Linked DNA regions of Homo sapiens: region 1 is linked to region 2. The links are contacts of gene promoters, found by promoter capture Hi-C in human tissues and cell types (Jung and others, 2019). All regions are on one chromosome and are shown on one strand. The core of a region is centred on a gene start or on the middle of the fragment in contact, and the rest is flanking DNA. Distances in the headings are between cores, read along the strand shown. Region 1 overlaps SORBS2 (sorbin and SH3 domain containing 2). Region 2 holds the start of FAM149A (family with sequence similarity 149 member A).

What was found. The method cuts DNA at HindIII sites, captures the fragments that hold promoters and counts their contacts. A contact is called where the count stands out against the background at its distance.
Region 1: a fragment that was not itself captured here is called in contact with the fragment with the promoter of FAM149A in region 2 in 4 of the 25 tissues and cell types used here (bladder, dorsolateral prefrontal cortex, ovary and 1 more).

Annotation. Positions count from the first base shown.
Region 1 is chr4:185,641,174-185,646,175 of GRCh38, forward strand. All of the region lies in intron 13 of SORBS2 (sorbin and SH3 domain containing 2), which reads right to left. Among named protein-coding and RNA genes, the nearest start is that of SORBS2-AS1, 56 kb to the left of the region's middle. The HindIII fragment of the contact is 5,438 bases long and covers 92-5,002 here.
Region 2 is chr4:186,103,454-186,109,241 of GRCh38, forward strand. FAM149A (family with sequence similarity 149 member A) reads left to right here and starts at 1,251. Exons shown (of 14, transcript NM_001395294.1): 1 at 1,251-2,189. The coding sequence starts at 1,624. LOC124900171 (a long non-coding RNA gene) reads left to right here and starts at 4,241. Exons shown (of 2, transcript XR_007058421.1): 1 at 4,241-4,282. RefSeq lists a silencer at 1,171-1,230. The HindIII fragment of the contact is 14,554 bases long and covers 1-5,184 here.

The DNA of each region.
Region 1 (5,002 bases), core at 1,561-4,060, 460 kb before region 2:
GCATCATACCTTAGAATGGCAGTTTTCCATGAATTATGCTTTTGTTTATTTAAATAGTCAATTTATAGTTACAATGGGCAACTATCTAGAATGCATGCCAATAGAAATTAGCAGAGAAAACACCCAAAACAATGATAGCTGGTAATTATCGATAACTTTGGAATGCAATGAAAGGCACATGTTTGAGCAGAGTTGTGTTAAAGGAAGTGTTAGTGGCAGAACTAGAATTTTCTCTTTGCTGTGGTTGCCGTATTGAATCTTTTAAGTCATGCAATAATTAAATGTCCTATGGTGACCTGGAGGCACTGCTAAGGAACACAGAAGCCTCGCAACAGTCAGTGACACACATACAGATGGTCAGTCAACAGATGGATATACACACAAATCACTAATCTCAGTAATTTAACACTTTCCATGTGGAACATGGACATTCCTTTGAGTACAGCACTAATATTAACACTCAGAAACTCATTTAGGAGGTATGATTATGGTTTACTCTAATTGCTCATAAAAGGCAAAAGAGCAAAGATACTGATATGCATCTTTCTAGCCTTGGTGTGATTTTTTTGTTGTTGTTTCTTTTCATTAAAAAAAAAAAAAAACCCACCAGCAAACCTCCGTTTAAAACTAACTTTGTTAGTCATCAGTGCAAGAGGACGTGTTCAAGAAAAGCTACAACTATAAATCACAAGTGATCCTTACTTAAAAGCTACCAAGGGTGAACAACTTTAAAAATTTTAGTGTTTTCTATAATTTAAAAGCATTTAATTGCTTTTGTGGTTATCGAGATTCCACTAAGTATTCTCAGTGAGGCATGTGCTTTCTATACGTTGTTCTAAACAAAAAGAAGTGCCAGGGCTATTTTGTTTTTCAAATTACGCTCATTCCATTTTAAGTTTTAATGACATTGACTACCGTGTTTTATATTTATTGTGGTTTCACAATAAATGCTATATACATTATTAGTTGGGATAATTCTTAATGGTCATCAGATGAAACTCCTTAAATTTTTATAGTTAAGTATTGACTGACAATCTTTATTGATAAAGAAGCTTAAGTTCATTAAGGGTTTAAGTTGCATTTCAACTCTGCTACAGTGTTTTCAATGACTATTTTCTTCTGCTTTTATCATTATGTTCAAGTTTAGTTATTGTAGGTTAGGGTAACATTTTCATATATTTTTTTTTTACTTTATCAAGCATACAGAGGTCCTAAACAAATGCTTTATTAATTTTTTTTTTTAAATTTAACATTACTCACCTACAAACATATCCAATGCAATGGGATATAAAGGTTTTAGTAATATAATCCCAGCAGAGTTTTTATGATTGTCTCATGGAAAAATTAAATTGTGGAAATACGGTTCTGATTTGTGGTTCGAGTCAGTTCAAGGCAAATTCCTGGTGACTGCTAAGTACTTTTCCAGATCAAACATTAGGCCCAATTAATTAACATTTCTAAATTTACAGTCACATGAGTATTTATGAGCTTCAAAAAAGTGCGCTCACTTTTACTTTCCCTGTTAAAGAACATAAACGCATATGCCACTGATTCCTAAGGAAGATCTCTTTGCCAGGGTCTTGGGAAGATTTTTGTTCAAACAGTACTACCCCCCTGCCTTCTCTGTATCCCAGGGAATCGTGGAATTATGAGTCACTACTAATAGCAGTGTGTCAAACCCCTCCAAGAATGTTTTGAGACCCACTGGGCCTTTTGCACTAGAAATATATAGGCTTCATGGATAAACAACAGAACAAGGATTCAGTCCCTCACCAACTTTTTCCACTGACTGCAAGGGTGAAACCTGTGTTCCTTCATTCACTTAGAAATTCCACGAATGCATATTCACTGAACACCTGCTACAGGCCAGGCATCGTCCCAGGTGTTGGGATACAACTGGTGGACCAGTCACAGCCCTCGCCTTCAAGAAGCTCAAGATCTCATGAGGAACACAGTGTGCCATGGGCACACAGCAGGGAGAGCCTCCAACCTAATGCAGAGGAGTCAGGCACATTCCCTGGGGGAGGTGGGACTGTGCTGGGACCTGGAGGATGGGATAGAATTCTCCATGTGAAGGAAGAGGTGGTGGGGAGAGCTTTTCCTGGTGGGGAGGTGCAGCCTTTACAGAGGCCCAGCAATGCGGGAATTGAAAGTTCTCTGTGCAGCTGGAACCTAGCGAGGCAGGGAGGGTGGGAGGAGAGATGAGGCTGGAGAGGTCAGCTGGAGCCCAGTCACAGGTCTTCTATAAATTATGCTCAGGGTTTCAGATTTTGCTCGAAGGACAGTGAAGAGCCAGAGAAAATTTTGAGCTGGAGGTTTTATAAAGATTTTCTAAAGATTGCCTTCGCTGTGGTGTGGAGACTAGACTGGAGAGGTAGGGAAATGAATCAGGTGGCTGTCACTGTAGCCCAGGCACGGACAATTGTGGGCCAGAAGAGAGGAGCAGCAGTGGCACTTCTCCTGGCAGGCGACACTGAGTCCACTGCAGGAGAGGGGAAAACCCAAGATGACCCTTTGGAAAAGTGGGCAGATGGAGAGGCCATGTAGAGATTCAAAAGAGCAACACAGAATTGCCCAGGTGTTGTGTATATTTTTCAAAAATTGAAAATGAAAAGAGCAAAGGAATGCTTCCAAGGCATCTTGGAGTCAAAAGACATGAGAATGCATGAATAAGACCTTGATACCCCTCAGCGCTGGCCATCGCTGCGACGCCACTCTCATTCAGCACGCCTGCTCTTCAACCTCTAGCCTGTATTTTCAACACTTCAGAATCTTATGTAAACTATATCAGTACGCGGCCAGTCTCTACATCACCACGGCCCACTTGGCTCTTTTTGTTTTCTAATTTATAGAGGCAATTGAAACGAAGTCAGGACTAATTTTTTTAAAAAGATGATGAGCTGGTCCTACACTGGAAAGGCTGGCCAACATGTCCCATATGGCCAGCTCAAACCATTCTGCTTAAGGCTGGTCCTCTCCAAAATTGTTTAGGAGGGTTAACATTTTTGGTTCTTTCTATTTCTCCATAAGATAGCCATTCTCACTTCCTTCCAAGTTTCTAAGTTCCTTCTACTTATCTTCTCCTGTGGCTGCAGAGACCTATCCACACTCGAATCTCTGTCACACTCATGGCTCCAGAGTTTCCTGTCTTACAACCAGTCACATCTACTGGTCCTGTGTGGTAACTACTTAGGGCCTAAGTTTCTGATAAAGTAAATCAAGTATACTTTATTGTAAATTAGCCAATAAATAAATTAATTTATACTGCAAAATCATCAAATAAGGGAATCAAATAACTGCTACTTCAATGTGTTTCCTGCTCAGCCACACCTGGAGTGGCTGTACAGCAGCGACCAAGTGCACCAGGCATCAGTATGCCTGGGCTCAACTCCTAGTTCTGGCTCCCACCATGTGTCCCTGGGGCAAGGCGAGCTAATGTGTGTTTCAGTCTCTTCATCTGTAACATGGAAATGCCATGTGTCTGCTTAATAGGGCTGCTGGAAACTTTACATGAGATAAGGCATAAATTACTAATTACAGCGCCTGGCATATAGTGAGTGCTCAATAAAGATTTACAATGATTGCTATTGCTATTATTATTGCTATTGTAAAACGAGGAGTCTTTAAAGTCTTTTTTAACCCAAAGACAAGAGTAATGTGACAATTTCAATAACAATGATAGGGTCAATGTATAAACCCTAAAGGGAGCAAAGGGAGGGTTTTTTAGGTGTGCGTCTGTTTTAACCATATAAGAGGCTGTTTACTTTGCACAAACTCAGATCTAGTCTTGCATAGATATTAAATGATAGACTTGAAGTTCCTCAAGGTAGAGAGTGTGTCCTGTTCCCCGCTGTGCACCTCACATAAAGCCTGGCATGTAGCTGGTGCTCAGTCAGTTTTACTGAATGACTAAATAATAGAAACATCGTGGTGGGAGAGCGTCTAAAACCAATCCTGTTTCCTGACACCACGGCTACCAAAGCATTCCAATACCATTACCATGTTCGTTATCCTAAGAGTCTCATAAATTACTAGAAAGATCATTAAAATTTTGTTATTTAATTTAAATCTGAGATATATTATTTCACTGTTTTCAATTTTCTGCAATGATGACATTGTGTTTCACTCAATTCTCATTCTGGAAATTTCAGAGTAGCATGATACTCAATCACAGAAACTAGTAAATGGGTTACAAGTTTGCAATGGTGCCTGCAAATCAGTGATTTTTTTTTTCTTTCAGTTTTTCTTTTGTAGTCCTGTTACTCTAAAAGATATGAGTTATTTAAAGAAAGGGTAAGAAGGCTTAGACAAATATCATGTATGAATTATCTGATGATAAGGTTTTGAACATGCTTCTCCAGAACACAACCGCAAACACAGGGTTTCAAAGACTCAATCAAGGACACTCATGTTGGGTGTGGCAAGGCTAGAGTTTCCAATTAAACCACAGGGCTGGCCTTGGATTATATATGAGTGTGATTTCTTGGAGACTCTTGAAGGAGCTCCACAAAGAAAACTCTCTTTTTCCTGTTCACTGACACCTAAAATTCTTTTAAAGCAAAAATGAGAGTAAATTGCAATTGATTGCAAATGTTTTCCTAGAAGTAGGCTTGGAAGGAGATGCAGAGGAACTGTGGAGTTTCAAAGAAAATCCTGAGGACACTGATTTCTGAGGGGAAGCAAAGGACATGCAAGGGAGTATTGGGGAATCAAAACCAAAGAAGGCCAAGGGAAGACCTATGTGTGAACCTGCGCTTCGAGGAGGCAAGTGGTTCTTCTTAAGTGTATAGATATTTTTGTTTGCATATAATTAAATAATTGGAAAAAATCCTGCAAAGTGAAATATAATCTTGATCCATTAGAATGACAATCAATCAGGAAGCTTGAGGCTTGGTAACCTGAGGAGGGATTTAATAAGAAGCAATTAAAACAACTTGTTATGAAAAGGGCATTTGGAAAATTCTCCCTTCATCCAAAGAAATATTAAAAAGCCAATATGGAA
Region 2 (5,788 bases), core at 1-2,500:
TGCTTAATGCAATCTTGAAGCAGACAAGTGCCCAGTACATGTTGGTGGCAGTTAGATGTAGAAAAGGGATCATGACAGAAGACTTGTTAACTGCCTCCAAATAACGCAAAACTTAGCATTACCTGGAAGTTTACCGTGGCTCAGACTCCAGTTTGATAACTTACAAAAGATTCAAGTATATAAGCATGAATGTCAGTTTATTCACTGCCAGACTTAATTCATCTCTTTTCCCTACCCCACATCAGGAAATGTATCTCCTGAGATCCTCTCCTGAATATTAATGGACAAACTCCATCAATATCTCATTACTATTTTTTTGACACAGGGTCTCACTCTACTGCCCAGGCTGGAATGCAGTGGTGCGATCACGGCTCACTCCAGGCCCAAGCGATCACCTCAGCCTCCCGAGTACCTGGGACTACAGGCATGCGCCACCAGGCCCGGCATTTTTTTTTTTTTTAAATATTTGTAGAGATGGGGTCTCCCTATGTTGTTGCCCAGGCTGGCCTGGAACTCCTGGGCTCAAGCCATCCTCCCACCTCCCAATCCCGGTGCTGGGATTACAGGTATGAGCCACCGAGCCTGGCTGCAGTATCTTATTTTTTAACTCTGTTCAACACTGACCCCACACCCCTTTAGATGCTCGCACCTATACGCTCTACCTTTCACACATATTTTTCAGATTAAGCAAAATACAATTTATTCCACTGAATAGAAAACGTTGCCTTCCATATCTGTCTTTGAATTTGTAGTCGTTCCGATTATAATTTGAGTTCTCAAACATTTGAATTACACAGTCTCTTGGTTCACTCCGACAGGTGTTTAAACAGGTGTGCGTAGGTCTTTCTACTTCAGCTCTCAGAGCCGGTCTTGTTTGCAGGTTAGTGGGTGGCGCACCTCGCGGTTGCTCCCACCCCACCCTTAGTAACAGGGTTTGAGTAGGACCCTGGGGTGGGGGAGTGGATGCTGCTGTTTCAAGCTCGTTCGCCCAAATACATCTTTCTACCCACCTTCCCTATCGTCAGAGAGGTGGCCTGACCCCAGCACGTGCAAGCTTGTCAGGCTGGGTAAGTTCCAGAACCTTCTGGAGCCAGGATTCTCTTTCCCAGCCCTGGGCCCTGAGCTCGGCGGATGGGATCTGCGAGGCTCGGGGCGCAGGGGAAATGGGGGCGTGTTCCTTTAAGGCGGAACCAGGCGGGGAGTGGGACGTCCCCCGCGGGCACAGCCCGAGCCGCACCTGGGGCCCAATTAGCCTGGAGCGCGGCCGGGTGTGTTGAACGTAGCAACCGCGGGCGGCGGGCGGCGGGCGGCGGGCGTCTGGGGCGGGCGGCGGCCGCGCTTCCCGGGGCTCCTGGCCCTTCGGCCCTCGGGGGTCTCACGGCGCTGGGACGAGGCGGGGCTGCTCTCCGCAGCCGGGGCGCTCGGCGGACGGACCCGGGCCGGGGAAGGGCGACCCCAGCGGCGCGGAGCTGAGCGTCCTCGGGGAGGAGAGGGAGCCAGGGGCCTCCGGGGCTCCGGGTGCGGGGACCTCAGGCTCCTCGCCCCGGCCCGGGCCGCCTCGGCCGGATCTCCGCGGTCTGAACTCTCGGGCGGCGGCGAGGACGGCGTGTCCACTGTCGAGGCATGAAGGCTGCTGTGCTGGACCTTGGGTCTCTCTTGGCCAAACTCTTCGAGACCTCGACGGCGCCCCCCGCAGGCCCCTCCTCCAGACCCTCGGGAGGTGCTGCCGCTGCAGGGTCGGGGGGCTCCAGGGCGGGCACCCCGTTGGGTACCGCCCCGACCCTCCTCCGCGCCCTGGCTCCGGACTCCCCCTCCGCCTCGCGGCGGTCGCCCGCCCCGCTGCTCTCCTCCCCCTACTCCCGGGGCTCCGCCGCCAGCCGCGCCGCGGGAGCAGTGGGGACCCTGCTCTCTTGGCCCAGTAGCCCTAGAGCGGGTAAAGCCCCGCCCCAGCCCCCCACTCCCTCCGGCGGGGGCTGCTCCCCTGCTCGCCTGGTGGTCCCAGCGCGGCCGCCCTCGGGCCCCGGCGGGGTCTGGGCCGCGCTCCCCAGGAACCCGCTCCAGCCTGGCCCCGGAGAGCGAGAGCTCGGCGCCTGCGTGGCCCCCGGGGCTGGCCCCAGAACCCTGTTCCTTACGCTGCCTGACATCGGCGAGGAGGGGGCCTCGGACGGCGACTCCGGGGATGGCGAAGCGTGAGTAGCAGCGTGGTCCGGGCGCGTGTACCTTTTGCCGGGACCCCCGACCCCTCCGCCTGCCGCACTCACCTTCGCAGGTGCACTTCAGGAAATGAAATATTTGTAGTAACTTTCATAACCCCCTGGGCACCCTCCTTGCACGTTTCCTGGGTTTTTACTCCTTGGCTTTGCGGGCTTTCAGACATAAGCTGTGACATGCTTTGTCCAGCTTTCTCAGAGTGAATCCTAAGGGGCCTTGAAGGAAGGGACAGAATTTTGTTTCTCTTCTACCAGAAGCATTGCTACTTAGAGTGTTTGTTTGGTTTTCTTAAGGACTTTTTGAAGTCCCTTTCTTTGTCTCAGAATATAGCAGGTGTGCAGGGAAACCGAATACACACGTCTGCAGCAAGTGTTTTAAGAAGTGGTGAGACCTGGTGCTTTCCTAATGTCTAAGGACCAGTCCCTAGTCTTATCCTAAGTGGGATGGGTCTCCTTTGTGTGACATCTAGTTAATTTACATATGCATGACATCATCTGACACAAATGGAGTTGTAATGGCCAGGACACGTCTGATTATTACCCTAGAGCTCCTGAGAGCTTTCCACAGTGCCCTGAGTCACTGCAGAAACGTTGACTTCATGGGAACATTTTCACTGGGAATCGGAGGCCGATTCCCTCAACACACACACACCCACACAACACCCCTTTCACTTCCAAGAGTCGTGATAAAAACATTGCTCTTTTAAAATGTGTTTTAGAACTAGGATGAATTTTAATTTTTAGAGTGGAGCATATCGTTAGCTATTCTTGAGTGGGTAAATTTTCATCCTGAATGCTGCAAAGAAATAGTGAAATGGTCAAAGACAGATGAGCCAATTCACAGACTGAGGTTTCTGCATTGTAATCTAGTGAGGCCATTCCCTACTCCCTCCAAAAAATCCTGAGTAATTTTTGCATTCATACTGATCCTGACTCACTCACAATTTAAATAATTACAGTTTCACAAAATTGAATGATATTCATGTCAATATGAAAACAAGCGGCCGGGCACGGTGGCTCACGCCTGTAATCCCAGCACTTTGGGAGGCCGAGGCGGGCGGATCATGAGGTCAGGAGATCGAGACCATCCTGGCTAACACGATGAAACCCCGTCTCTACTAAAAATACAAAAAATTAGCCGGGCGTGGTGGTACGTGCCTGTAGTCCCAGCTACTCGGAAGGCTGAGGCAAGAGGATGATGGCGTGAACCCGGGAGGCGGAGCTTGCAGTGAGCCAAGATCGCACCATTGCGCTCCAACCTGGGCGACAGAGAGAGAGACTCCGTCTCAAAAAAACAACAACAAAAAAGAAAATAAGCAGTTAAGCAAAAAGTTGTTCCCACTCATTAAAAAATACTATATTATGACATATGTTTATCAACTGATAGTTTTCCCTATCAGTTAATTGCTTTTGGAAAACTCACTGGAATACATATGCCTGAGGAATTAGATCTTTGTTATTGGCAACTGGTCCTTAACATTTATGCAATTAATGTTTTATGAGCAAACAGATCTACACACTGACCTTAAACTCTAGTCTTAGTGCTTTTAACAAATAGGCACTGAAATATGCAGCATGGCCAGTGAAACTGGTGTTAGTTTCAATTCTTGAACATATTAGCTCATGTTTATATTGTGCAAATATTTGGAATAGATACTTTTTGAATAACACTGCATTTGGCATTATTTACATAAGAGATTATTCTGAATTAACAAATGCATTCAATTTTATGGACAGTGAAGAAATTGAATTTTTAAATTATTATTACTTTTTGAGATGAGGTCTCCTTCTGTCACCCAGGTTGGAGTGCAGTGGTATGATCACTGTTCATTGCAGCCTCAACCTCCCAGGCTCAAGCGATCTGATTCTCCCGTCTCAGACTCTCGAGTAGCTGGGACTACAGGTGTGAGCTACTATGCCTGGCCAATTTTAAAAATGTTTCTGTGGAGACGGGGTCTCCCTATGTTGCCCAGGCTGGTCTTGAACTCCTGGCCTCAAGCAATCTTCCCACCTGGGCATTGCTGGGATTACAGGCATGAGCCACTGCATCTGGCCATGAAATTGAATTTTAGGTAAGTGCCATGAGAAGTAATATACACAGCTAGGTGCTTTGCAGAATCCTCCTGAGTTTGTGTGTTCCTACTGTCTGCAGCAGCAGGTAGAGGCACACACAGGCAGGAAGCAGACTGGCCCTCTGAGCATACCATTTTTCCTTTCAGATCCACGACTACTCACATTCCCTTCCTCTCATCATACCCCACTCCTTTTTCAATCACTAAAACATAAGAGACAAAGGGGAAGGAAGAAAGTATTAAGACGGCTTTTCTTTCAATACTGCAGACTTTGCACCTTGAAGGATTCTTTTTCCCTCCTGGATTTCTGTGGTAGTGATTTATAACACCGAATAAACAAACATAAGACAATGAATTTAAATTTGCTCCTACCATCTCATCTGTCACTTGGCAGATAGCTGCTGCTGTTAGCCTGTGTGGTTAATATTAAAATCAGGAATTTAAATTTCAAAAGCCTGGAAACTTGGAAAGGGAGAAATGGGTAATGTCAGAGAAAAAGTTTAAAGAGTGATGAGAATGTGAATACATATAAAGGAAACCGTAAACCTGTCTGCAAGAAATGCGGATCTAATTTTAAAGCTGTGGCCCTGAGTTCTAAAGGAAAACCCTATTAGCAGTTTGTACTTTTTTGACAATAACGCATACATTTTACATTTGCCTGATTCTGTACTTGGCTTTAAAAAAAAAAAACAAAAAACTAAAAGTAGTGAAATTAACTTGAGTAGGAAAATATGCAAACTCTCCTGCAATTTAGAGGCTTTTTTCCAAGCAAAGATGCTGAATAGCAGCAGGGGTTTTTAATCTCTGACCCAAGAATTCCGTAAGTGAAAGGCCCATGGAACAGAGGCTGCCCCTTTTGCTCCACAGGGCGTACTGACTGCACATCTGAGCCAGAGGCAGAGGATACTGATCTCTCTGTCTTCACCTCACTTTCCTGCATCCCTGGATACGTGATCCAACACCTTTGATCTTCACCTTGGCTTCCCTGTCCATTTCATGTATATATTATGCCTCAGTGTTTTTCAGTCTCACTCATCCCTCTTCATTACCTCTTTTCATACTTCTGGTTTGAACCACACAATACACCTTGTAAAGGTCTTATTCTCAATCTCTGGTTTTTTTTTTTTTTTGAGACGGAGTCTTGCTCTGTCGCCCAGGCTGGAGTGCAGTGGCGCGATCTCGGCTCACTGCAAGCTCCGCCTCCTGGGTTCACGCCATTCTCCTGCCTCAGCCTCCCGAGTAGCTGGGACTGCAGGTGCCTGCCACCACGCCCGGCTAATTTTTTGTATTTTTAGTAGAGAAGGGGTTTCACCATGTTAGCCAGGATGGTCTCGATCTCCTGACCTTGTAATTTGCCCGCCTCGGCCTCCCGAAGTGCTGGGATTACAGGCTTGAGCCACCGCGCCCGGCCGGTCTTATTCTCTTATTTGTTCTGCAAATGTAAGAATTCCTAGCAATACGTAAGGTGGATAGATAGATAATTGCTGTGTATGAATGTTGGTAGAG